Regions from separate parts of the Homo sapiens genome. Here regions 1, 3, 4, 5 and 6 are each linked to region 2. The links are contacts of gene promoters, found by promoter capture Hi-C in human tissues and cell types (Jung and others, 2019). All regions are on one chromosome and are shown on one strand. Each heading gives the region's core, a stretch centred on a gene start or on the middle of the fragment in contact. The rest is flanking DNA. Distances are from core to core; before and after follow the strand shown. Region 1 holds the start of COX6A1 (cytochrome c oxidase subunit 6A1). Region 2 holds the start of P2RX7 (purinergic receptor P2X 7). Region 3 has its middle 20 kb from the start of POP5. Region 4 has its middle 4.5 kb from the start of SIRT4. Region 5 overlaps RNF10 (ring finger protein 10). Region 6 has its middle 17 kb from the start of COX6A1.

Region 1 (3,861 bases), core at 1-2,500, 690 kb before region 2:
GCTATACTGTGTGTTTACACATAGGTGTGTCTTTAGAGGAAAGGGTTCAAAGCTTTCATTAGATTCTTTTTTTTTCTAATAAAGAAAAAAGCTTTGTTGCCCAGGCTGGTCTCAAACTCTCAAGCTCAAGCAATCTGTCCGCCTCGGCCTCTCAAAGTGTTGGGATTACAGCCATGAGCCACCACGCTGGTCCTCATTACATTCTCAAAGGGGCCTATTGAAAAAAAAAAAAAAAAAAAAAAAAAAGGCCGGGCACAGTGGCTCACGCCTGTAATCCCAGCACTTTGGGAGGCCGAGGAAGGCGGATCACAAGGTCAGGAGATGGAGACCATCCTGGCCAATATGGTGAAACCCTGTCTCTACCAAAGTACAAAAAAAAAAATTAGCCAGGCATGGTGGTGCGTGCCTGTAATCCCAGCTATTCAGGAGGCTGAGGCAGTAGAACTGCTTGAACCTGGGATGCAGAGGTTGCAGTGAGCCAAGATTGCACCGCTGCACTCCAGCCTAAGCAACAAGAGTCAAACTCCGTCTCAAAAAAAAAAAAAAAAAAAAAAAAAAAAAAGATGAGACTGTTGAGTCAGGATTAGGATCCAGGTCTGCTGGCACCAATTTCAGTGCTCTTTATACTTTCTGTTGCTATTCATTCATTCATCCATTCATTCAGCAAATTTATATCAAGTATCTGGTATGTGCCAGGTATGATTCCAAATTACACCATTCCCAGATTATTCTGAGAATGCTGCAGTGCCAAACTCTTGGTATCACAGACTTTATATTCTAGTGGGGGAGACAGACAAAATAATAATATAACGACGAAGGTGCAATGTTATGTGCTATGAGAAAACGCAGTCGGAGGATGGCGAGGAAGGGGAACGGAATTTTAGATAGGGCGGTCTGGGATCAGAACCTCCAGATGCCCGTCCATGGACTCCAACGAAGGGAGCGATTCCAGGTACCAGGGCACCCTGCACAAACCTCTCTTGAGCTTCCGCCTCGCCCAGGTGGGGACGGTAGGGAGACCGGAGGGCACACGCATGCGCACGAAGGAAACGGTAAAGCCTGAAGGGAGGTGCAGAGCGCATGCTCTCTCTTGCCCGAGATGCCGAGGATTTTGACAAGGACTCCGTCGTCCCGGATGATAGTGCTCAGGTTAATGCCAGTGGGAGGGCGGCGCCCAATAGTAACTTCCTTTGGAGGTTGTAGTACCGCCCCCAGAGCCAATTTTCCACTTCCGCTTCCGGCGCTGCGGCAGTCCAGATCAAAAATGGCGGTAGTTGGTGTGTCCTCGGTTTCTCGGCTGCTGGGTCGGTCCCGCCCACAGCTGGGGCGGCCTATGTCGAGTGGCGCCCATGGCGAAGAGGGCTCAGGTACTGGGGCCGGGGTCGACGGGTCGAGCCTCAGCCCCACTCGGGCGAGACAGGGAGGGACTGTGACCTTGGCCCGAGGCCTTGCGGGAGGGAAAGTGAGACCCGGGCCCGCCCCATACCGGCGCTGAACGTTTGTGGCTTCTCCGCAGCTCGCATGTGGAAGACTCTCACCTTCTTCGTCGCGCTCCCCGGGGTGGCAGTCAGCATGCTGAATGTGTACCTGAAGTCGCACCACGGAGAGCACGAGAGACCCGAGTTCATCGCCTACCCCCATCTCCGCATCAGGACCAAGGTACGCCCTTGTACATCTCTTCAAGCGTCCGTTCTCTTTTCGTTATGTGTGCCTTAGTGCAAGTTCTTCATTCTCTGAAGGCATGGGTGCCAGGCGTGTACAGCTTGTTTATCCTCACAAACAGAAAATGTATTTTCTTCCATTTTGTGGATGGACAGCTGACACTTGGGATTACGTCTCAATTCTCTTCTTCAAGGTCATACAATAAGTGCTCTTCAGTTTCCCTTTTCTCCGATTCATCCTACCTCCTGCCTTCTGAGACAGTTCTTTTTTTTTTTTTTTTTTTTTTTTTTACTTCTGAGACAGTTCTGAAACAGGTGTCCGTTGTGTAAAGCCTGGAGGTTTGGGAAATCCAATTAGAGTGGCAAAGTCTGAAGGTGGTTCGCGTAAGCGAACCCAGCAGCTACATGGGAGGCTGAAGCAGGAGAATCCCTTGAACCTAGGAGGCGGAGTTTGCAGGGAGCTGAGATCGTGCCACTGCACTCCGGCCTGGGCAACAGAGCGAGACTCTGGTCTCAAAACAAAACAAAACAGCAACAACAAAACATGGGCATCTGGCAGCTACTAGTTGCATAATGAAGAGACTGACAGCTTTCTCTATTCCCCACCAATACCTTTTCTCGACTGTTTTATCATTGGTTGTTGATGTAGATATATTACAATGTTGTGTCCTCTGTTGTTTGCTGTATCTTTAACAAGGGCTTATTCTGATTCTTCAATACTGGCCATGCGCGGTGGCTCACGCCTGTAATCCCAGCACTTTGGGAGGCCAAGGTGGGTGGATCGCCGGAGGTCAGGAGTTCAAGACCAGCCTCGTCAACATGGCGAAACACTATCTCTACTAAAAGTACAAAAAGTAGCCGGGCGTGGTGGCGGGCGCCTGTAATCCCAGCTACTCGGGAGGCTGCGGTGGGAGAATCTAGGAGGTTGAACCCAGGAGGAGGAGGTTGCAGTGAGCCAAGATCCAGCCATTGCACTGCAGCCTGGGCAACAGGAGTGAAACTCCGTCTCAAAAAAAAATAGTAATAATATACTTGATCTTAGCCAAAAGGCCGAGAAGTGATGAAAAAAGTTATTATTATTATTATTATTATTACATCACCTAGCCCATATAGGACTGGCCTTGTAGAAACTTAACCTAGACTCTTGAATTTGTTGAGTCTTTGAGCGGCACTCCCATCCTTGTACAATGCAATTAGAAGCCAAACAGTAAAGGTTTCTCAGCCTCAGCACTGTTGACATTTGGGGCTGGGTAATTCTTGTTGGGGGGCTATCTTGTGCATTGTGAAATGTTTAGCCATATCCTTGGCCTGTACCCACTAGGTGGCAGTAGTACCTGCGCAACCCCACTCCCGCTTCCCCCTCCCCCGCCCCCATCACAGTGTCTCCCGATACTACCCAGTGTGCCCTGAAGGGGCAAAATCACCCTGGGTTGGAGACCGTTGCCCTAAAGTAATGCTTTTCAAAGGTAATAGGCAAGATAATTCAGGGTGGGCTGCAGTTTCCCAGCCCAGATATTGTTTGAAGTCTGGGATGGTGCCAGAAATCTGCATTTAATTAAGCATCTCCCTCCCCTAATACTGCCACCATTTTGATATAGGTGATTTGAGGATTACACTTTCATAAACACAGCACTGGATATACTAGTTACTAGGGAGAGGATGATGAGTAACTAACTTGAGCTTGCATTTTCTGCCATCCATATTTGTTTCTGGAATTAAAACTGTCCTGTAGCCAGGATAACTTTAAGGGCTCCCCTGGTAGTTATAAGAGCTCCTTAAATAATGGGAAGGTTGAACTACACCAGTAGATAAAGGACTAATTTCCATTTTGTTTTTATATATGATCTGTCACCCCGTTATAAGCAGTTCATGACGGTGTTCTTTCTAAATTATTTTCTGGAATTATCTAACTGACATCTTCACTCCACAGCCGTTTCCCTGGGGAGATGGTAACCATACTCTATTCCATAACCCTCATGTGAATCCACTTCCAACTGGCTACGAAGATGAATAAAGAGAATCTGGACCACTACCCGGGCACCAGGGACCACAGCACTGGTTTGGACCGTTACTCTGCACATGGACCAGAAAAAGTATATGGGACCTTAAGCTCACCTTCTTTACTTGTATCAAATGATGACTGGTATACTGGTCTCCCATCCCTTTGCTTGTGGCAGGAGATGGCTTAAATAAATAACTT
Region 2 (3,769 bases), core at 139-2,638:
GGAGGGAGTGGTGCCCAGAAGCCCTGCCTATATGCAACTGAGAAGGGCAGGGCCAGGGAGTCACGTCCATCCTCACTGCTCTCCAGTCTCCTGAACTGGAAGCCAGAAGGTGAGGGGAACCCTGATGCAGTTTGTATGTGTGAGAAAGTACAATTAGTTTAGACTGAAAAACTGAAAATCTACCCGGCCACTTAGCAGGCTGGAATAACAGAAAGGGATCAAGCCAGCTGTAAAGATAACAGGGAACAATAATTCTCTGTAGCTGTAAAGTGATAATACAACCCTGCATCTTTGAGTGACTGCTGAAACATTGTCCTTTAAAATCAGAGACCTTCAGAAACTTTGCTGTTTGAAATTACATGACTAAGACTGAAATATTCCAATTTTGCCTGGAAGATTTAAGTCATCTTGACACAGAGAAGCAGCCTCAATTTACAACTCAGGAGCAGAGCTTCAGATAAAGATTTTCTGGACACATTTGACATGTATCTTAGCTATGTTGCTTCCTAGGAAACAGGGCCCTGGGTCCTCTTTGCAATCCAGACTGAAGTTGACTGCTTTGTACAAACCTGTTTTGCTTTGAGTCCATCAAAACATGACTTCATTTAGATTTTATCTCAACTCCACTTTCCTCGGAATCCTATAATAAATTGCTGTTTTCCTTTGTTTGGTGATGTGCGTAGCTCTTCTGGTGGGTGGTGTCCCTCACTGAATAGGTCAACAAACCTAACTTTGTTGGACTGCCACTGTGTCCCTGGTGATCTTTGGCTGATTGGTCTAGGTCATAGATCGACCTGCCGGGGTGCAGAGGAGGGTGGAGAGTAACTCAGAGGGTCAAGCATGAAAGATCTGGCAGAAAAATAAAGCCCCTCCACCCCCACCACCCCTACCCCTGCAAATCTGATTTCCCCCACCAACTGCAGACCAGAGTATTATAAGGGGCGGTGGAAGAAGAGGGGGAGATCTTCATTTACCCAGAGCTCCTATACATCAGGGGCTGAATAAAGGGTTGTAGAAATGAATGAATCAATCTCTGAGTGGGGCTTCAGGCAATGGAAAGATCTCAGTCCTTTTCTGAGGCATAATGGAAGCTCCCAGTCTTGTGACATTTGCAAGGCTGCCCCTTTCTCCCAAGAGACATGAGACCAAAAAAGTGAAAGGAAAGGGGGGAAAAGGGAGAATTCTAAAAATGCCCATCCTCTGAACACCATCTTTGTGTAGGCATCTGGGGGAGGCCAGCTGGGGTGAGGTCATCTGCCAGCCAGGCCCGTAGGACTTGGCGCTTCTTGTTTATCACAGCCACATGTGGGGCCACTGCCAGGGCCCGCCCCAACTCTGCAGTCATTGGAGGAGCTTGAAGTTAAAGACTCCTGCTAAAAACCAGTACGTTTCATTTTGCAGTTACTGGGAGGGGGCTTGCTGTGGCCCTGTCAGGAAGAGTAGAGCTCTGGTCCAGCTCCGCGCAGGGAGGGAGGCTGTCACCATGCCGGCCTGCTGCAGCTGCAGTGATGTTTTCCAGTATGAGACGAACAAAGTCACTCGGATCCAGAGCATGAATTATGGCACCATTAAGTGGTTCTTCCACGTGATCATCTTTTCCTACGTTTGGTAAGTGGGATCTGGGGAGGACCCAGATCTCTGCAGTGGCCGACAGCACAGAAAGCCCCAGCGGGCAGCTTCAGGTGCACATTCTGAATCTCACATGGTTTTCGAATCTGAGACGTGCTCTCACAGCCAGCTGGGCGGGAGGGAGGAAGCAGCAGCAGGCAAGAGGAAACGGTGCCAGGCTGCAGCAGAGAGAAGCCACAGGACAAGCGGGATTCCTTTCTGCTCTACTTCAGGCCCGCCAGGGCGCGCAGGGCAGGGCGTGCCTGGGGAAGGTAGGAAAGCGCAGGGCAACACCCTGGATCCCCAGGGAGGAGGCGAGGATCTCAGGGCACGCCTGGTGATCATGCTGGCATCTGAGTCACCATGCTTGGGAGGAATAGGACCAGGCTTGAAAATGTGTTATAACTTTAGGTCCTCACCAACGTCAGGAAGGCCCTGCTTTTTGGTTTTTGTTTCTTCTAAAAGAAACTTACTGAGATATAATTTATACACCATACAATTGACCCATTTAAAGGGTACCATTTAATGATTTTCAGATTATTCCCAGAGTTGTGCAACCATCCCCACAATCAATTTTAGAATATTTTAATCGACTCAAAAGGAATCCCACACTCCTTCACCATCATTTCCAACACTGTTCCTCCTCCTTCCCACCCATCAATTTCCTTTCTGCCTCTATGGATTTGCCGATTCTGGACATTTCATATAAATGGAATCACATAATATGTGGTCCTTTGTGGCACTTAGCGTGTTTTCAATGCTCATCCATGTTGTAGCATGTGTTGATACTTCATTCAATTTTTTTTTTTAAAGAGACGGGGTCTCACTATTTTGTCCAGGCTGGTCTCAAACTCCTGGACTCAAGTGATCTGCCTGCCTCGGCCTCCCAAAGTGTCAGGATTACAGGCGTGAGCCATTGCACCCGGCTGATACTTCATTCCTTTTTACGGCTGAGTAGTACTCCATTGCATGGATAGACCACTTTTTTCTATCCATTCATCCATTGATGGACATTGGGGTTGTTTCTCTTTTTTGGCTATCATGAATAATGCCACATGAACATTTGTGTACAAGGTTTTATGTGGATATATATTCTCCTTTCTCTCGAATATGTACCTAAGAGTAAAAATTGCTAGGTCATATGTTAACTATGTTTCACCTTTGGGGGGAATGTGGAGCTGAATTTCACAGCAGCTGCAGTTTTTTACATTCCTATCAGCAGAGTATGAGGGATCCAATTTCTCCACATCCTCACCAACGCTTGTTATCGTCTGTCTTTTTGGGTTTTGTTGTTGTCATTTTGTTTTTGTCTTTGAGATGAAGTCTTGCTCTGTTGCCCAGGCTGGAGTGCAGTGGCGCAATCTTGGCTCACTGCAACCTCCACCTCCCCGGTTCAAGCGATTCTCCTGCCTCAGCCTCATGAGTAGCTGGGATTACAGGTGTGCGTCACCACTCCTCACTAATTTTTGTATTTTTAGTAGAGATGAGGTTTCGCCATGTAGGCCAGGCTGGTCTCAAACTCCTGACCTCAAGTGATCCGCCCACCTTGGCCTCCCAAAGTGCTGGGATTACAGGCATGAGCCGCCACGCCCGGCTGATTGTCTGTCTTTTTTATTATAGCCATGCTAGTGGGTGTGAAGTGGTAGTTCATTGTGGTTGTGATTTGAATTTCCCTGATGGTGAGTGCCTCTTATTCTCTGTGCTGATTGATAATGATGATGAAGGCAATTTGTATCTATAGAGTGGCAGTGTAGTTTACTAAGAGTTAGGGTAACTTATTTCATAGTACTGGCTATGTCTTCTGGGCCAAGTCATTAACTTCTCTGAGCCTCAGTTTCTGCATCTGTTCATAGGGTTGTGGCAATTAACCAAAAAAAAAAGGCATGAACAGCCCTTATCATGATGACTGACATAGGATAAGAGCTCCATAACTAGTATCTATTTTTAAAAATAATCTTTTTAAGTCTGGGAGTGGTGGCTCACACCTGTAATCCCAACACTTTGGGAGGCCAAGGCGGGTGGATCACGAAGTCAGGAGTTTGAGACCAGCCTGGCCAATATGGTGAAACCCCATCTCTACTAAAAATACAAAAATTAGTGGGGAGTGGTGGTGCACACCTGTAATCCCAGCTACTAGGGAGGCTGAGGCAGGAGAATCGCT
Region 3 (4,059 bases), core at 312-2,811, 530 kb before region 2:
CTCCAACTCCTGATCTCAGGTGATCCACTCACCTCGGCCTCCCAAAGTGCCGGGATTACAGGTATGAGCCACCGGCAATCCCAGGAAATGAGCCCCTGGAAATATTTCTATTATAATAAAAGTTCACATGTATCGAGCACTTATCCTCAACTACCCTGCGGGGCAGGTATGAATTTTATCCCCATTTTCCAGATAAGGAAACTGAGGCTCAGAATGGGGAAATAACTCTTCGGAGGTCACACAGCTAGCAGGAAGTAGAGCAGGAATTCCAATCCAGGCAGGCCGACTTCAGAGCTCACATGCTTAGCCATATGAATGCATCAGGCATACAATAGTAGGCGCTCAATGGATATTAGCTACTGGTGGCCCTCTGACCAAGGCCCTAGGAAGAACTTGCTTTCATGTTGGCACCGTTTTCCAGGACAAACTCCATCTTTTGTTTATTTTCTTCCCCTCTAATCCCTGCTTGGAAACACAAGGCCTCTTAGCAGTCCCTCTCTGAGGGATTTTCGGATTATTCCCACCTTGATTAGTTCCAGTTTCTCCTGCAGAAGCAGGAGTTATTTTGGGGCCTTGATGGCTCCCTCTGGCTGCCTGTGACCTCCACCCCGTTGCAGACACCTCTCCCTTCACCTGCACGGCTCATTAGCCGCATTCTGCTGCTCGGCTGCTGCTTTCCGTGCCCGCAGTTCCCCGCCCTACCTCGAGGGCCAGCACCTGCTCCCCTCCTCCCGGACCCCACAGCCACTCCTGCCACCCCACTATTTTGCAGGGATAGAGGCTGTTAACTGTTTCTTTTTTTAATTACCATTTTAATTTTTTATTTTTTGAGACGGAGTCTCGCTCTGTTGCTCAGGCTGGAGTGCAGTGGCGCGATCTCTGCTCACTGCAACTGCCACCCCCCAGGTTCAAGCGATTCTCCTGCCTCAGCCTCCCGAGTAGCTGGGACTATAGGCATGTGCCACCATGCACCGCTAATGTTAATTTTGTCACCTGTGTCCTAATCCTCAGACCCCAACTTTGCCTCAGAGCAATGACCCTCCCTCCAGTTCCAGGATTTTCCCAGACTTGAGCAAAAGCTCACACACCATTTGGATGCAAATGGGTTTGGCTGGTGTTCCCACTCCCTGTTCCTGTGGGAACCCAGTCCTCAATGTCATTCAGCCTGGGGCGGGAGCAGTAAAAACTCCCAAGGATGCATTTTATGTGATGTATATTTTACCACAATTAAAATAAAATTCCCAAGGGGTCACAGGACGCCTCCCCGCCTCTGCCACCATGTTATGTCGCCGTGCGTGGGGCCCACGTCACAGGCGTGGGGCGTGGGTTCTGTGGTAGCTGTCTGTTCTCTCTCTGCTCCTGGCTCTTCTTTCCAGCTCTGCGTTCTGCCTCTGCCAGGGCCGCCTGCAGGCCTTGCTTGCTTTTCAAAAATAACTCTTGAGTCTCTCACTGAGCTTGGGGGCTGCTTCCTGGGTGTCCCGGGCTGTGTGTTAATCCTTCCAATGCAAAACTTCCTGAAGCTTAAGACTCTGGGCTGGGCGAGGGAACTGGTCACCAGTGTCGGGCTGAAGTAGCTCAGATACTGACCTGCTGTTCCAGCACCTATGGTAAGGGCAGGTGGGTCCTTCCCAGTGACAGCAAGTCATTCATTCACTCATTAATTCAGATATTTATCAAGCATCCACTAGTGCCTATTGGCTGCTGAGCACACCCCCAGGTGGCCCCTGTTGGTTTCCCATTTGCTCCTCTTTGAATTTCCATTTCCTTCTCTAAAGTAGGGGTTCTCCTTTTTTTTTTTTTGTTAGCTCACTGCAGCCTCTACCTCCTGGGCTCCATCGATCCTCTTACTTCAGCCTCCAGAGTAGATGAGACTACAGGCAGTTGCCACCACGCCCAACTAATTTTGTTTATGTTTTGTAGAGATGAGGTCTCAAGGCCGGGCGCGGTGGCTCACGCCTGTAATCCCAGCACTTTGGGAGGCCGAGGCGGGCGGATCACTTGAGGTCGGGAGTTTGAGACCAGCCTGACCAACATGGAGAAACCCCGTTGCTACTAAAAAATACAAAATTAGCTGGGCGTGGTGGCGCATGCCTGTAATCCCAGCTACTTGGGAGGCTGAGGCAGGAGAATTGCTTGAACCCAGGAGGCGGAGGTTGCAGTGAGCTGAGATCGCGCCATTGCACTCCAGCCTGGGCAACAAGAACGAAACTCCGTCTCAAAAAAAAAAAAAAAAAAAAAAAGAGATGAGGTCTCGCTCTATTGCCCAGGCTGGTCTCAAACCCCTGGGCTCAAGGGATCCTCCTGCTTCAGCCTCTCAAAAGTGCTGGGATTACAGGCATGAGCCACCACGCCTGGCCAAATAGGGGCTCCTAAATTGGGGTGGCCATCAGTCCCAGTGGGAAACAGATGGCAAGCTCAAACTGGGTGACTTAAGGAAGGCTGACTAAAGGGATCATTTAGATGTGGACAGGGTGTACAGAAATCGCAGGAGACAGTGCAGTGCCGAGACTGGTTACAATGGGAGGGCTGTTACCTCCTTAGGCATGGCAGGAGCAGTTCCCACTAGCCAGAAAGTTATGTGGAGAGGGTCACTTTAAGAGAAGCTGTTGGCCAGATGAGGTGGCTCATGCCTGTAATCTGGGAGGCCGAGGTAGGTGGATCACTCGACATCAGGAGTTCGAGACCAGCCTGGCCAACATGGTGAAACCCTGTCTCTACTGAAAATACAAAATTAGCCAGGCGTGGTGGCACGTGCCTGTAGTCCCAGCTATTCAGGAGGCTGAGGCAGGAGAATCGCTTGAACCTAGGAGGTGGAGGTTGCAATGAGCCAAGGTTGCGCCACTGCCCTCCAGCCTGGGTGACAGAGCAAGACTCTGTCTAAAAAAAAAAAAAAAAAAGAAAGAAAAAAAAAAGAGAAGCTGTGACCTTCTGTTAACCAGCCTGAGGTGCCCTTCAGGAGGAAGCAGTTGCATAAATACCCTGAGTCACTCCACCTTCTCCCTTCAGTCTCCTCCCGGGGGCTCCTCCTTGCCCAAACCAGATTAGAAGCCAGGGGATATGGAAGGCTGTTGAGTCTGAACAGCTGAGTCTCCTTGGGCACACGGCAGGCTGGGGAAGTGCCCCAGATGGGCAAATGGAGGATATCGGACCTCTTCCCTGCTAGTAGTAATGGGGGTAGGAATAGTAAGTGATAGAATATATACTTAATAAATATTAGCTATTATACTGGTAGTGTTCATATTAGTTTATTGACTCCTGTGTAACAAATTACCCCAAAACTTAATGGCTTTAAACAATAATATTTATTACCCTACATGGTTTCTGTGGGCCAGGAATTGGGAACAGCTTAACTGAGCGGTTCTGGCTCATGAAGTTGTGGTCGTGGGTACAAAAAAAAAAAAAAAAAAGCTAGAAAGAAAGAATAACAGCCTGGGCAACATGGCAAAATCCCGTCTCTACCCCCGCAACCACGCACAAAAATTAGCCAGGTATGGTGGTGCATGTCTGTAGTCCCAGCTACTTGGGAGGTTGAGGTGGGAGGATGGCTTGAGCCTGGAGATCAAGGCTGCAGTGAGCTGAGATCGTGCCACTGCATTCCAGCCCGGGTGACAGAGTGAGACCCTGTCTCAAAAAAAAAAAAAAAAAAGTGAATGAATAAATGAATGAGCCCTAGTATTTGATGGCACAGCAGGGTGCGGCTATGGTCAATTATATGTATATATATAAAAAATTGTTGTTGCATTTTAGCTTTTTAATTTATTTTTTAAATTAAATTAAATTAAATTAAATTTTGTTTTTTTTTTGAGTTGGAGTCTTGCTATGTCACCCAGGCTGGAGTGCAGTGGTGCGATCTCACCTGCAACCTCCACCTCCCGGGTTCAAGTGATTCTCCTGCCTCAGCCTCCCAAGTAGCTGGCACTACAGGTGCCTACCACCAAGCCTGGCTAATTTTTTGTATTTTTAGTAGAGATGGGGTTTTACCATGTTGTCTAGGCTGGTCTCAAACTCCTGACCTCAGATGATTGGCCCGCCTCAGGCTCCCAAAGTGCTGAGATTACA
Region 4 (4,125 bases), core at 71-2,570, 840 kb before region 2:
ACCTACATCTGGTCTAGGTGTGGTGGCTCGAGCGTGTAATCCCAACGCTTTGGGAGGCCAAGGCAGGTGGATCACCTGAGGTCAGGAGTTCAAGATCAGCCTGGTAACATGGCGACATCCCTGTAAATACAAAATACAAAAATACAAAATTACAAAAATACAAAATACAAAAATTAACGGGGCGTGGTGGCGCTTGCCTGTAATCCCAGCTACTAGGGGGGCTGAGGCAGGAGGATCGCTTGAACCTGGGAGGTAGAGGTTGCCATGAGCTGAGATCATGCCACTGTAATCCAGCCTGGGTGACAAAGCGAGACTCCGTCTCAAAAAAAAAAAAAAAAAAAAAAAAAAAGAAAGTAACATTTCCCCCAACATTTTATCATAAAAAATTGTAAACACGAAAAGTTCAAAGAATTCCTCAGTGAACATTCATGTACTCATCATCCATATACAAAAATGACATTTTTTTTTTTTGAGACGGAGTCTCGCTCTGTCGCCCAGGCTGGAGTGCAGTGGCGCAATCTCGGCTCACTGCGAGCTCCGCCTTCCGGGTTCACGCCATTCTCCTGCCTCAGCCTCCCGAGTAGCTGGGACTACAGGCGCCCGCCACCACGGCCGGCTAATTTTTTCTATTTTTAGTAGAGATGGGGTTTCACCGTGTTAGCCAGGATGGTCAAAAACGACATTTTAAAAGGCCTGTTTGATGCTGATGTGTTATGTGATTATTTCTAACTTGTTTTGTGTTTTTTTTTTTGTTTTTTTTTTTTTGAGACATGTTCTCAGTCGCTTAGGTTGGAGCGCAGGGGTGCAATCACGGCTCAGTGCAGCCTAAATCTCCTGGGCTCAAGCGATCTTCCCACCTCAGCCTCCCAGGTAGCTGGGACTACAGGCACACACCACCATGCCCAGCTAATTTTTCTGTATTTTTTGTAGATACAGGGTTTCACCATGTTGCCCATGCTGGTCTCCAGCTCCTGGGCTCAAGTGATCCGCCCGCCTCGGCCTCCCCAAGGGGAGGGATTACAGGCATGAGCCACTGCAGCAGATTTCTTATTTAATTCACAGCCTGGATAAAAAGAAAAGACTAGCAATGTGGTGAATTTAGATTCTTTTACTTTGATCATCCAGTCAAGGATTTAGTCATTAATTCTGGATGGGGTGGAGTTGTGAGAAAAACACTAGGCCAGGCACGGTGGCTCACGCCTGTAATCCCAGCACTTTGGGAGGCCGAGGCGGGTGGATCACAAGGTCAGGAGTTCAAGACCAGCCTGGCCAAGATGGTGAAACCTCGTCTCTACTAAAAATACAAAAATTAGCTGGGCATGGTGGCGGGCGCCTATAATCCCAGCTACTTGGGAGGCTGACATAGGAGAATCACTTGAACCCGGTAGGCGGAGGTTGCAGTGAGCCTAGATTGCGCCACTGCACTCCAGCCTGGGCGATAGAGCGAGACTCCGTCTCAAAATAAATAAATACATACATACATACATACATACATACATAAAATAAAATAAATAAATAATGGGGCTTGGTGTGGTGGCTCACGCCTGTAATCAAAAAAAAAAAAAAAAAAAAAAAAAGAGAGAGAGAAAAAGACTAAAGCCCTAATCCTAATCCCATGAGGGTATCAAAGGAACTTCCTAGCCCTTGAGAATTCTAGAATGGGTGGCCCATTACACTCTCTCAGTAGCTATCAAGTGAAATTGTGTGTTTCACCAGCTGACTTGGATGACAAAAAAAAAAAGAAATAGAAACAAAGCATACAAAAATTAAAAAAGAAAGAAAGAAAGAAAGAAAAAACAAAACAAAACAAAAAAGACTTGGATGACTTCACCGTCCAGGGATGATTTTCCAGCACTATGAGAAAAATTGAAAACTCAGCTAACTTTTCCTCAGAGCATGAGATTTTTGGGGGCCTAGAAGCACAATAGAATTCCCAACCAATCTCTATTAGTGATGATCATTCCACTTGGAGAACTGAAAAAATAACCTAGGTTTGAACTTTTTCATAGTAAAATTGGTGAATGGGGAAGGAGAATGTCACTGTTCTCACATTTTTAAAAGTTATGATCAAATACCCAGAAAATGTGTGCAGAAAATGTGCTGGATTATAATTTTTAAATTTTGGGGGGGATTATAATTTTTTTGACAACGAAAATTTCAGTCTAGCTTCTGGTGCTTTCTTTCAGCAGATGTGGTCAGGTTAACTAATGCAGAAAGGGCTGTCAGTGGCTGGAGTGCAGTCACAGGATCATGGCTCACTGCAGCCTTGAAAAAAAAAGGGGGTGGCCGGGCGCAGTGGCTCACACCTGTAATCCCAGATACTGGGGAGGCTGAGGCAGGAGAATCACTTGAACCCGGGAGGCGGAGGTTGCGGTGAGCCAAGATGGCGCCATTGCACTCCAGCCTGGTCAACAAGAGTGAAACTCCATCTCAAAAAAAAAAAAAAAAAAAAAAAAAAGGAGGGGGCTGTCATATGAGTTTCCCCGCCTAGTAGATCCTACAGCTACTGACTTTCGCTGTTGCTGGAGCTACTACTCCCTGTGTACTAAGTTAAAAAGAATCGGCCAGGCGCAGTAGCTCACGCCCGTAATCACAACACTTTGGAAAGCCTAGAGCCCAGGAGTTCGAGACCAGCCTGGGCAACATGGTGAAACCCCGTCTCTACAAAAAAATACAAAAATTAGCTGGGCTTGGTGGCCCACCTGTAGTCCCAGCTACTCAGGAGGCTGAGGTGGGAGGATGGTTTGAGTCCAAGAGGTTGAGGCTGTAGTGCGCAGTGATCGTGCCTCTGAACTCCCGCCTGGGTGAAAGAGTGAGACCATGTCCCCAAAATAAAAAAATAAGCTTTTAAATAATTAAAGTGGCAGGGCGCAGTGGCTCATGCCTGTAATTCCAGCACTTTGGGAGGCTGAGGCGGGCGGATCGCGAGGTCAGGAGTTCGAGACCATGCTGACAAGCATGGTGAAACCCCGTCTCTACTAAAAATACAAAAATTAGCCGGGCATGGTGGCGGGCACCCGTAATCCCAGCTACTCGGGAGGCTGAGGCAGGAGAATCACTTGAACCCGGGAGGCGGAGGTTGCAGTGATCTGAGATCGTGCCACTGCACTCCAGCCTGGGCACAGAGCAATATTCCGTCTCAAAAAATAAATAAATAAATAAATAAATAAATAAATAAATAGCCGGGCGCGGTGGCTCACGCCTGTAATCCCAGTACTTTGGGAGGCTGAGGCGGGCGGATCACGAGGTCAAGAGATAGAGACCATCCTGGCTAACACGGTGAAACCCCGTCTCTACTAAAAAAAAAATACAAAAAATTAGCCGGGTGTGGTGGCGGGCGCCTGTAGTCCGGAGGCTGAGGCAGGAGAATCGCGTGAACCCGGGAGGCGGAGCTTGTAGTGGGCCGAGATCTCTCCACTACACTCCAGCCTGGGCGACAGAGCGAGACTCCGTCTCAAAAATAAATAAATAAATAAATAAATACAATAATAATAATAATAAAAGTGGCGGGGTGCAGTGGCTCACTCCTGTAATCCTAGCATTTTAGGAGACTGAGGCAGGTGGGTCACCTGAGGTCACGAGTTCAAAACCAGCCTGGCCAACATGACGAAACCCCATCTCTACTAAAAATACAAAAATTAGCCGGGCGCAGTGGCGAGCGCCTGTAATCCTAGCTACTCCGGAGGCCGAGGCAGCAGAATCACTTCAGCCGGGAAGGCAGAGGCTTCAGTGAGTGAAGATCGCGCCACTGCACTCCAGCCTGGGCAACAGAGCTAGACTCTCTCAAAAAAAAAAAAAAAAAATTAAAGTTAGTTTTACTTACAAGTCTTACTGAGGATTACAGACCGAGGGCTATAGTGTGGGAGCAGTTCCATCAGACTGGTCCAACACAGAATTTCAGCCACTCATATACAAGTGGTGAGTGTACGGCGCCTGCAAAATCACATTAAACTTGCTTCAAAGTTACATTAAAGCACAATCATATCAAAGTTTGGGTGCAAGAGTATATCTGGTTATGGATTACAGAGGTATCATCACTAACCCCATCAGACATTATCTTGTGCAGGAAAAGGCAATGACCAGAGTCATTTATCTTTTAATGAATATAGTGACTTGGAAGAGACA
Region 5 (4,128 bases), core at 1,520-4,019, 590 kb before region 2:
TTTTTTTTTGTTTAATGTGTGTGTTAGAAAGCTTGACCATGTTTGCCACCGCCAGTGTCTGCTTTTCTGGCTTCTGCTGTGCGTGTTCGTTTAGCAAGGAAGGATGGGCTTTGTAGCCAAATCCATGCTTCTTCACTAGCCATAATCCACTGCTTGCATTTAGGAACAAATTAAAAGGCAGGATATGTGGAGATTAAAAGGTTAGGAAACTGGATATTGGCTGATTTTTAAAGTTGAAACTAAGCTGCCTTAGGAACGTAACAGCTAAGACCAGTGCTACTACAGCAGATACTCAGGAGCTCTGATGCAGTGACTTCACGATGAGATGGTTGCTCTAACAAAAGGGTACACTCAAGCTCCGCATAATCCCATAAAAAGATTTCTGCAGTATCTCATAAGCTGAACACTTCATATACTTGATTCTGCTGGGAATCATTGAAAGGACCTCTTGAATTACAGAGTACTGAGTTGAGGGGAAAACAAGCGTAAGGTGAAAAGATAGTTTATCTTTTGTCAAGGTGAAAAGAGCAAGAGTTTTCAGTATTCAAATATTTAAGTCACTTTTTTTCTCCCCCTTTTCTACCTCGTGGAAGAAAGCCCTTTGGTTTCTATTCTGTAAACTGTCATTAATGGCCATTTGCTTCCTAGCTACATGATTAATTTCTTTGAGATTTTGTTCCAGTGGCTGGCTTAAATTTGCCCTTCATTTGTACACAGGAAATATGTAAATTTGGCTACCAGGATTTTCTTGATCTTTCCGGCTAGAGTCGCATACCACAGTTTCTTTGCCTGGGCTAATTGCCTGAACATTTATATAACATTCCTTTTCTTGATTATATTCCTACAGCTTCATTCCAGTAGTGTTAATAGGTATTTCTGAGAACATGCAGCAGTAAATATCCTGTGAATATAGCTCAGAGGAGAGAAGGTGGGTTAGAAAGTGGGGAAAGTCATTTAGAGGGAGCAAAGAAAGAGAGGCAAGAGAGAAGGTAGGCCGTTTATGGGCAGGCAGTGGACTCTGGCCAGGAACCAGGCTCTTGTCCCATCCCCCTGGGCCGATAGAACTGCCAGGGAGGTTAAGGGAAGGTCAGGTATTATGAGGCAGTTATTTTGAGGTTGGTGGTATGAAGCACTGCCCTGGCATTCTTCCTGTTATTCTGGTACCAGAAACCAGGTTACTAGTGGTAATCTGCCTTGAAGAATGCCTCTGAGCTGTAAATGGACCTGGAGATTTTAATGGCTTTGAAAATTGAGGTGATTTGAAGCCTTCAGTAAAACCACTTAGAGAAATTAAAAGAATTTCAGGGCCCGTTGGCTGGATTCCTTGGTTTATATGGCTTCATTGGAAGTCTAGTGGGTGCTCTTGACAGGAACGCTTTGGATTTATTAATGATAGGCTTTCAAATCATAGTAAAACTGTGTGTCAGCCACTATGGTAGGCATTTTACAGAAGTTTTCTTTCTTAATCCTCATGATTCTATGAGGAAGTATGGTAGAATATTAGTCCTGTTTCACAGAAAAGAAAATAGAGGCTTAGCAGTGTTAAGAGTGATTTGTCCAAGTAAATTTTTATGAAGTCCTAGGCGGTATTTTTCAATAAGCTTTGTATAATCACACTTAGCAAGCAGATAACTTACTGGCATGTGCATCATTCCTGATACCACCTCTCTCTTCCTTTCATTCAGAATTACTAATTTCAGCTGGATTCAATTTGTTGTCAGTTGATTCTGTAGTAAGGCCATATGTTGCCCCTCTGGAGGTGCTTGTCAACTACTCTGGATGATGGGTAAGCAACTTGCTTGTGATTACAGCATGAATCAGCAGCAGAAACTTGCTGACTGGTATTCTGACCTCTAGGCCGAGCCACCTGTTAGAACTAGAGCTAGAAATGAAGATGCCAAGTAATTTAACTGTGAAAAACTTGTGGCCCTTAATTTGGTAATGGGGGGAGGCTGAGATATACCTACTGCTACTTGGTGGAGACCTTTCCATTAGGGAAATGTGGAACAACTGAGAAGCTGGGTTAAGTTTTTAAGTCATTTATTTGTCGACTCTGGAGCCTGAGTTTAGTGGTCTTGTCCATTTTGGAATGTGTCTTGACAGTAGTTCTTGGCAGTTGTTCTCAGTGGTGGCTGTGCATCAGAATCTCCTCAGGAACTTTTTTTTTTCCCTCAAGACAGTCTTGCTCTGTCACCCAGGCTGGAGTTCAGTGGCGCGATCTCAGCTCACTTTAACCTCTGCCTTCCCGGTTTAAGCAATTCTTCTGCCTCAGCCTCCTGAGTAGCTGGATTGCAGGTGTCCACCACCACACCGGCCTAATTTTTGTATTTTTAGTAGAGATGGGTTTCGCCATGTTGGCCAGGCTGGTCTCAAACTCCTGACCTCATGAGGAACTTAAAAAAAAAAAAAATAGGGGTGTGTGGGGCCCCTTCCTAGGAATTTATTATCTTTTTTTTTTTTGTAGAGATGGGGGTCTCACCATGTTGCCCAGGCTGGTCTCAAATTCCTGGCTTCAAATGATCCTCCCACCTTAGCCTCCCAAAGTGCTGGGGTTACAGGCATAAGCCACTGTGCCTGGCCTTTTTCTGATTCTTTAAGCCTAGATTGAACCCGTGGGTCCTGGGCATTCATAATTTAAAAAGTCTGTGCAAGTGATTCTGGTGTGCAGCCAGGATTGAGAACCACCACTCTGAGATTTAAAACTTCACCCATAGTTCCTTCTCCCAGGAACTTGATATTTTTTGTTTTCCAAAATCTAAAGTGGATCATCTTATCACTCCTGTTCTACCCTCGAGTTTTTCCCATGTATATCCTGGCAAGTTGTCCACAAAACATTTCAAAAATAATACTCTGAATTTTATCTCTGGGTCCCAGGCCTGATGGTACCTTCAACCTTTAGCTGCCTTTTGCCTGGGTCTAGAGATAAGAGCCAGTCTCTCACTTGACATATCTGTCTTCATACCCTTAGGTAACTGGAAGACGAGAAACGAGTTGATTTTGGCAACTAAAATCACTAATCATGATGTGGTCAGTTGTTATGTGTTTTGGAAATGAGCAGTTTACTGTCTTATCAGTGAGCATTTCTGTAAGCATTATGAAACTGTTTCCTTGCCAGTGTGGTAATAAGTGAAGAAATGAAGACAGCCTTCTTGCTGAGTGCCAGTTTACTTTCTTTTTTTTTTTTTTTTTGAGACAGAGTTTTGCTCTTGTTGCCCAGGCTGGAGTGTAGTGGTGCAGTCTCGGCCTTGCCGCAACCTCCACCTCCCGGGTTCAAGCTATTCTCCTGCCTCAGCCCCCGGAGTAGCTGGGATTACAGGCATGCGCCACCATGCCCAGCTAATTTTTTGTATTTTTAGTAGAGACGGGGTTTCTCCATGTTGGTCAGGCTGGTCTCGAACTCCCGACCTCAGGTGATCCGCCCGCCTCGGCCTCCCAAAGCATTGGGATTATAGGCATGAGCCACCGTGTCTGGCCATTTTACTTTCTTAATAAGCCCTTGCCATGTAGAATCTGGCTTTACCTAAATCTATGCAAACCGTGAGGTGCATCTTGAAAGCAGCAGTTAGGGTCAAACAGGTAGGGTCCAGGATCATCTGAAACAGTCTTGGATAATGAGGTTGGAGGATATGTGTTTTCTTTATATACCTATCCTCGTAGAATCTCCTTTGCTTGAGGTGATGTGAAATGGAGTTAAGGAAAGCAAAGCAAGAGAATGTGGCTGAGTTAGCTGGGGTTCTGCATCCCCTGAGTTTTCCTTTTTTTTTTTTTTTGAGACGGAGTCTCACTCTGTCGCCCAGACTGGAATGCAGTGGCACGATCTCCGCTCACTGCTAGCCCCGCCTCCCGGGTTCACGCCATTCTCCTGCCTCAGCCTCCCGAGCAGCTGGGACTACAGGCGCCCGCCACCAAGCCTGGCTAATTTTTTGTATTTTTAGTAGAGATGGGGTTTCACCATGTTAGCCAGGATGGTCTCTATCTCCTGACTTCGTGATCCACCTGCCTTGGCCTCCCAAAGTGCTGGGATTACAAGCATGAGCCATCGTGCCTGGCTTTTTTTTTTTTAGAGACAAGCTCTCGCTCTGTCACTTAGGCTGGCATGCAGTGGTGCAAACATAACTGACTGAAACC
Region 6 (3,995 bases), core at 1,146-3,645, 710 kb before region 2:
CTCCAAAAAGTTAGTTGGTACATATCATTATACATCTGTCCAAACCCACAGAATGTGCAGCATCAAGAGTGAGCCATAGCTGGGCGCGGTGGCTCACGCCTGTAATCCCAACATTTTGAGAGGCCGAGGCGGGCGCATCATGACATCAGAAGATAGAGACCATCCTGGCCAAAATGGTGAAACCCCGTCTCTACTAAAAATACAAGCTGGGTGCGGTGGCTCACGCCTGTAATCCCAACACTCTGAGAGGCCAAGGAGGGCGGATCATGAGGTCAGAAGATAGAGACCATCCTGGCCAAAATGGTGAAACTCTGTCTCTACTAAAAATACAGGCTGGGCGCGGTGGCTCATGCGTATAATCCCAGCACTTTAGGAGGTCGAGGCAGGTGGATCACCTGAGGTCAGAAGTTCAAGTGCCTGTAATCCCAGCTACTCGGGAGGCTGAGGCAGGAGAATTGCTTGAACCTGGGAGGCAGAGGTTTCAGGGAGCTGAGATCGCACCGTTGCACTCTAGCCTGGGAGACAAGAGCGAAACTCTGTCTCAAAAAACAAAAAAAGAAAAAATATAAAAATTAGCTGAGTGTGGTGGCACGTGCCTGTAGTCCCAGCTACTTGTGAGGCTGAGGCAGGAGAAGCGCTTAAACCCGGGAGTCGGAGGTTGCGGTGAGCCGAGATCACGCCACTGCACTCCAGCCTGGGCAACAGGAGCAGAACTCTGCCTCAAAAACAAACAAACAAACAAAACACCACTCATGTAGGGTACGTTGATAATGGGGGAAGCTGTGCCTGTGTCTGGAGAGGAGAGAGATATATAGGAAATCTCTGTACCTTCTGCTTAATATTGCTGTGAACCTAAAACTGCTCCAAAAAATAAAGTTTTTGTTTGCTTGTTTGTTTATTAAGACAGGGTCTCGGCTGGGCATGGTGGCTCACGCCTGTAATCCCAGTACTTTGGGAGACTGAGGTGGGCGGATCCCAAGGTCAGGAGATGGAGACCATCCTGGCTAACACGGTGAAACCCCATCTCTACTAAAAATACAAAAACAAAATTAGTCAGGCGTGGTGGCGGGCGCCTGTAGTCCCAGCTACTCGGGAGGCTGAGGCAGGAGAATGGTGTGAACCCGGAAGGCGGAGCTTGCAGTGAGCCGAGATCGCGCCACTGCACTCAAGCCTCGGCAACAGAGCGAGACTCCGTCTCAAAAAAAAAAAAAAAAAAAAAAGACAGGGTCTCACTCTGTTGTCCAGGCTGGAGTGCAGTGACGCAATCATGGCTTATTCAGCATTGACCTCCTGAGCTCCTGTGATCCTCCTGCCTCCACCTTCCGAGTAGCTGAGACTACAGGTGTGCACCACCATGCCTGGCTAACTTTTGTATTTTTTGTAGAGACGTGGGTCTCACTATGTTGCCCAGGCTGATCTTGACCTCCCGGGCTCAAGCAATCCTCCTGCCTTGGCCTCCCAAAGTGCTAGGATTACAGGCATGAGCCACCATGCCTGGCCAATAAAGCTTAATTAAAAAGAAAAGAAGCCAGGTGCGGTGGTTCCTGCCTGTAATCCCAGCACTTTGGGAGGCTGAGGTGGGTGCATCACCTGAGGTCAGGAGTTTGAGACCAGCCTGGCCAACATAGTGAAACCTCATCTCTACTAAAAATACAAAACTTGGCCGGGCATGGTGGCGGGTGCCTGTAATCCCAGCTACTCGGGATGCTGAGACAGGAGAATTGCTTGAACCTGGGAGGCGGAGGTTGCAGTGAGCCAAGATCTGCCACTGCTCTCCAGCCTGGGCAACACAGTGAGACTCTGTCTCAAAAAATAAACTACTGGGAGCCGTGACTCATGCCTGTAATCCCAGCACTTTGGGAGGCTGAGGCGGGCGGATCACCTAAAGTCAGGAGTTCAAGACCAGCCTGTCCAACATGGTGAAACTCCGTCTTTACTAAAAAATACAAAAATTAGCCGGTTATGGTGGCGGGCACCTGTAATCCCAGCTACTTGAGAGGCTAAGACAGGAGAATTGCTTGAACCCAGGAGGCGGAGGTAGCAGTGAGCCAAGATCGTGCCACTGCACTCCAGCCTGGGCAACAGAGCGGGACTCCGTCCAGAAAAAAAAAAAAAAAGAGAGAGAGAGAGAGAGAGGAGATTGTGCAGTTCTCAATTATTTATCAATTTTGATTTCTTCTCTCTCCAGACCATAATACTAATATCGGCACCACACTTTGCAGCTTATAAAGCACTTTCAATTCTATTTTATTTAATTCTTGCAACCCCAGGCAGAAGGCTTTTATTACCCCCTTTCTATAGGTTGGGAAACTGAGGCTCAGAGAGGAGAAATGAAGGTTCCAAGTAGAGGTAAGTAAGGCATTCAACTGGGGCAAGAATTTAGAGTTACTTGATGAAGTGCCTAATTAGCCCCAGGGCATGGTGTTGACAAAGGAACTATAATGAAAACACTAAACTCTACCTTTTGTGGAGGAAGATCCCCTGGGGCGGGGGAAGGAGGTAAGGAGTAGAGACTAAGAAGTTGACCATGTCTGGTTCATCTGTGATCCTGGGCCAATGTAGGCCCTGGGGAAAGATTTGGTGCTGGGTTGAAGAAATAAGAAGTGAAGGAGGCCAGGCACAGTGGCTCACGCCTGTAATCTCAGCACTTTGGGAGGCCAAGGCGGGTGGATCACGAAGTCAGGAGTTCAAGACCAGCCTGGCCAAGATAGTGAAACCCCGTCTCTACTAAAAACACAAAATTAGCAGGGCGTGATGGTGCATGCCTGTAATCCCAGCTACTCGGGAGGCTAAGGCAGGACAATCGCTTGAATCCAGGAGGCAGAGGTTGCAGTGAGCTGAGATGTCACCATTGCACTCCAGCCTGGGCAACAAGAGCGAAACTCCATCTCAACAACAACACGGTGGCTCACGCCTGTAATCCTAGCACTTTAGGAGGCTGAGGTGGGCAGATCGCGAGGTCAGGAGATCAAGACCATCCTGGTTAACATGGTGAAACCCCGTCTCTACTAAAAATACAAAAAAAAATTAGCCAGGTATTGTGGCGGGTGCCTGTAGTCCCAGCTACTCGCGAGGTTGAGGCAGGAGAATGGCATGAACCCAGGAGGTGGAGCTTGCAGTGAGCCGAGATCGCGCGACTGCACTCCAGCCTGGGAGACAGAGCGAGACTCTGTCTCAAAAAAAAAAAAAAAAAAAAAAAAAACCAACAACAACCAAAAAAAAAACAAAAAGTGAATGAATAAATGAATGAATAAAGGGAGAAACTTGGAGCAAGACCCCTTCGCCCTCTCTGGACTCAGTTTCCCCATTTTTTACTTGTTGACAGCTAAGTTTCTCATCCTTAGGAAAATGAGCAGACACAATATTGTACTCTATTTCCAGATGCACACAGACCACCCTCCTGAACCCCTACTGTGGATCCCTTGGGAGGGGGTGATCCACTGAACCCTATGTAGGGAGCCCCTGAATTTGAGGATCTGAGATCCCTTCCAGCCCTGGTGTTAATAGTTGTAATAATGATAATAGTAATAATAATAGGATCCAGAAGTTTTGGGATATTGGCTCTGGGTCAGGCACTGTGCTAAAAGCTTTATCTCATGTAATCTCTTTACAGCCCTGTGACGCAGCCATGGTTATTATCATCTCCATTTTGCAGATGAGAAAACTGAGGCTTAGAGAGGCTAAATGACTTGCTCACGTTGCACAGCCTAAAAGTGAAGTCCATGGTTTCCAATTTAGCACTGCAGACACCAGGGCCCCAGCACTACCCCCCCTCCATTACGGAAGAGTAGGACCTCCATGGGGCCCGCCCTTCCTTCCTTCCTTCCTTCCCTCCCTCCTTCCTTCCTTCCTTCCTTCCTTCCTTCCTTCCCTCCTTCCCTCCCTCCCCTTCCCCTTCCCCTTCCCCTTCCCCTTCTCCTTCTCCTTCTTCTTTCCTTCCTTCCCTTCTCTTTCCTTCCTTCTTTTCGTTTTGTTTTGTTTTGTTTCGTTTCTTA

Evidence for each region. The method cuts DNA at HindIII sites, captures the fragments that hold promoters and counts their contacts. A contact is called where the count stands out against the background at its distance.
Region 1: a contact is called between the fragment with the promoter of COX6A1 here and the fragment with the promoter of P2RX7 in region 2, in 2 of the 25 tissues and cell types used here (aorta and mesenchymal stem cells).
Region 3: a contact is called between a fragment that was not itself captured here and the fragment with the promoter of P2RX7 in region 2, in 1 of the 25 tissues and cell types used here (thymus).
Region 4: a contact is called between a fragment that was not itself captured here and the fragment with the promoter of P2RX7 in region 2, in 1 of the 25 tissues and cell types used here (bladder).
Region 5: a contact is called between a fragment that was not itself captured here and the fragment with the promoter of P2RX7 in region 2, in 2 of the 25 tissues and cell types used here (dorsolateral prefrontal cortex and hippocampus).
Region 6: a contact is called between a fragment that was not itself captured here and the fragment with the promoter of P2RX7 in region 2, in 2 of the 25 tissues and cell types used here (lymphoblastoid cells and spleen).

What each region holds. Positions count from the first base shown.
Region 1 is chr12:120,436,863-120,440,723 of GRCh38, forward strand. It overlaps COX6A1 (cytochrome c oxidase subunit 6A1), which reads left to right and starts at 1,251. Exons shown (of 3, transcript NM_004373.4): 1 at 1,251-1,367; 2 at 1,517-1,659; 3 at 3,592-3,861. The coding sequence starts at 1,265. The coding sequence ends at 3,675. It also overlaps the pseudogene LOC124903126. RefSeq lists enhancers at 1,288-1,497, 1,424-1,945. The HindIII fragment of the contact is 17,604 bases long and covers 1-3,861 here.
Region 2 is chr12:121,131,488-121,135,256 of GRCh38, forward strand. It overlaps P2RX7 (purinergic receptor P2X 7), which reads left to right and starts at 1,389. Exons shown (of 13, transcript NM_002562.6): 1 at 1,389-1,608. The coding sequence starts at 1,484. All of the region lies in intron 2 of LOC105370032 (a long non-coding RNA gene), which reads right to left. The HindIII fragment of the contact is 21,026 bases long and covers 1-3,769 here.
Region 3 is chr12:120,599,674-120,603,732 of GRCh38, forward strand. No RefSeq gene overlaps it. Among named protein-coding and RNA genes, the nearest start is that of POP5, 20 kb to the left of the region's middle. The HindIII fragment of the contact is 9,311 bases long and covers 1-4,059 here.
Region 4 is chr12:120,295,765-120,299,889 of GRCh38, forward strand. It overlaps a transcript of SIRT4 not described here. Among named protein-coding and RNA genes, the nearest start is that of SIRT4, 4.5 kb to the right of the region's middle. The HindIII fragment of the contact is 8,404 bases long and covers 1-4,125 here.
Region 5 is chr12:120,537,683-120,541,810 of GRCh38, forward strand. The region is part of intron 1 of RNF10 (ring finger protein 10); the gene reads left to right. Among named protein-coding and RNA genes, the nearest start is that of RNF10, 5.4 kb to the left of the region's middle. The HindIII fragment of the contact is 6,302 bases long and covers 1-4,128 here.
Region 6 is chr12:120,419,425-120,423,419 of GRCh38, forward strand. No RefSeq gene overlaps it. Among named protein-coding and RNA genes, the nearest start is that of COX6A1, 17 kb to the right of the region's middle. The HindIII fragment of the contact is 4,053 bases long and covers 370-3,995 here.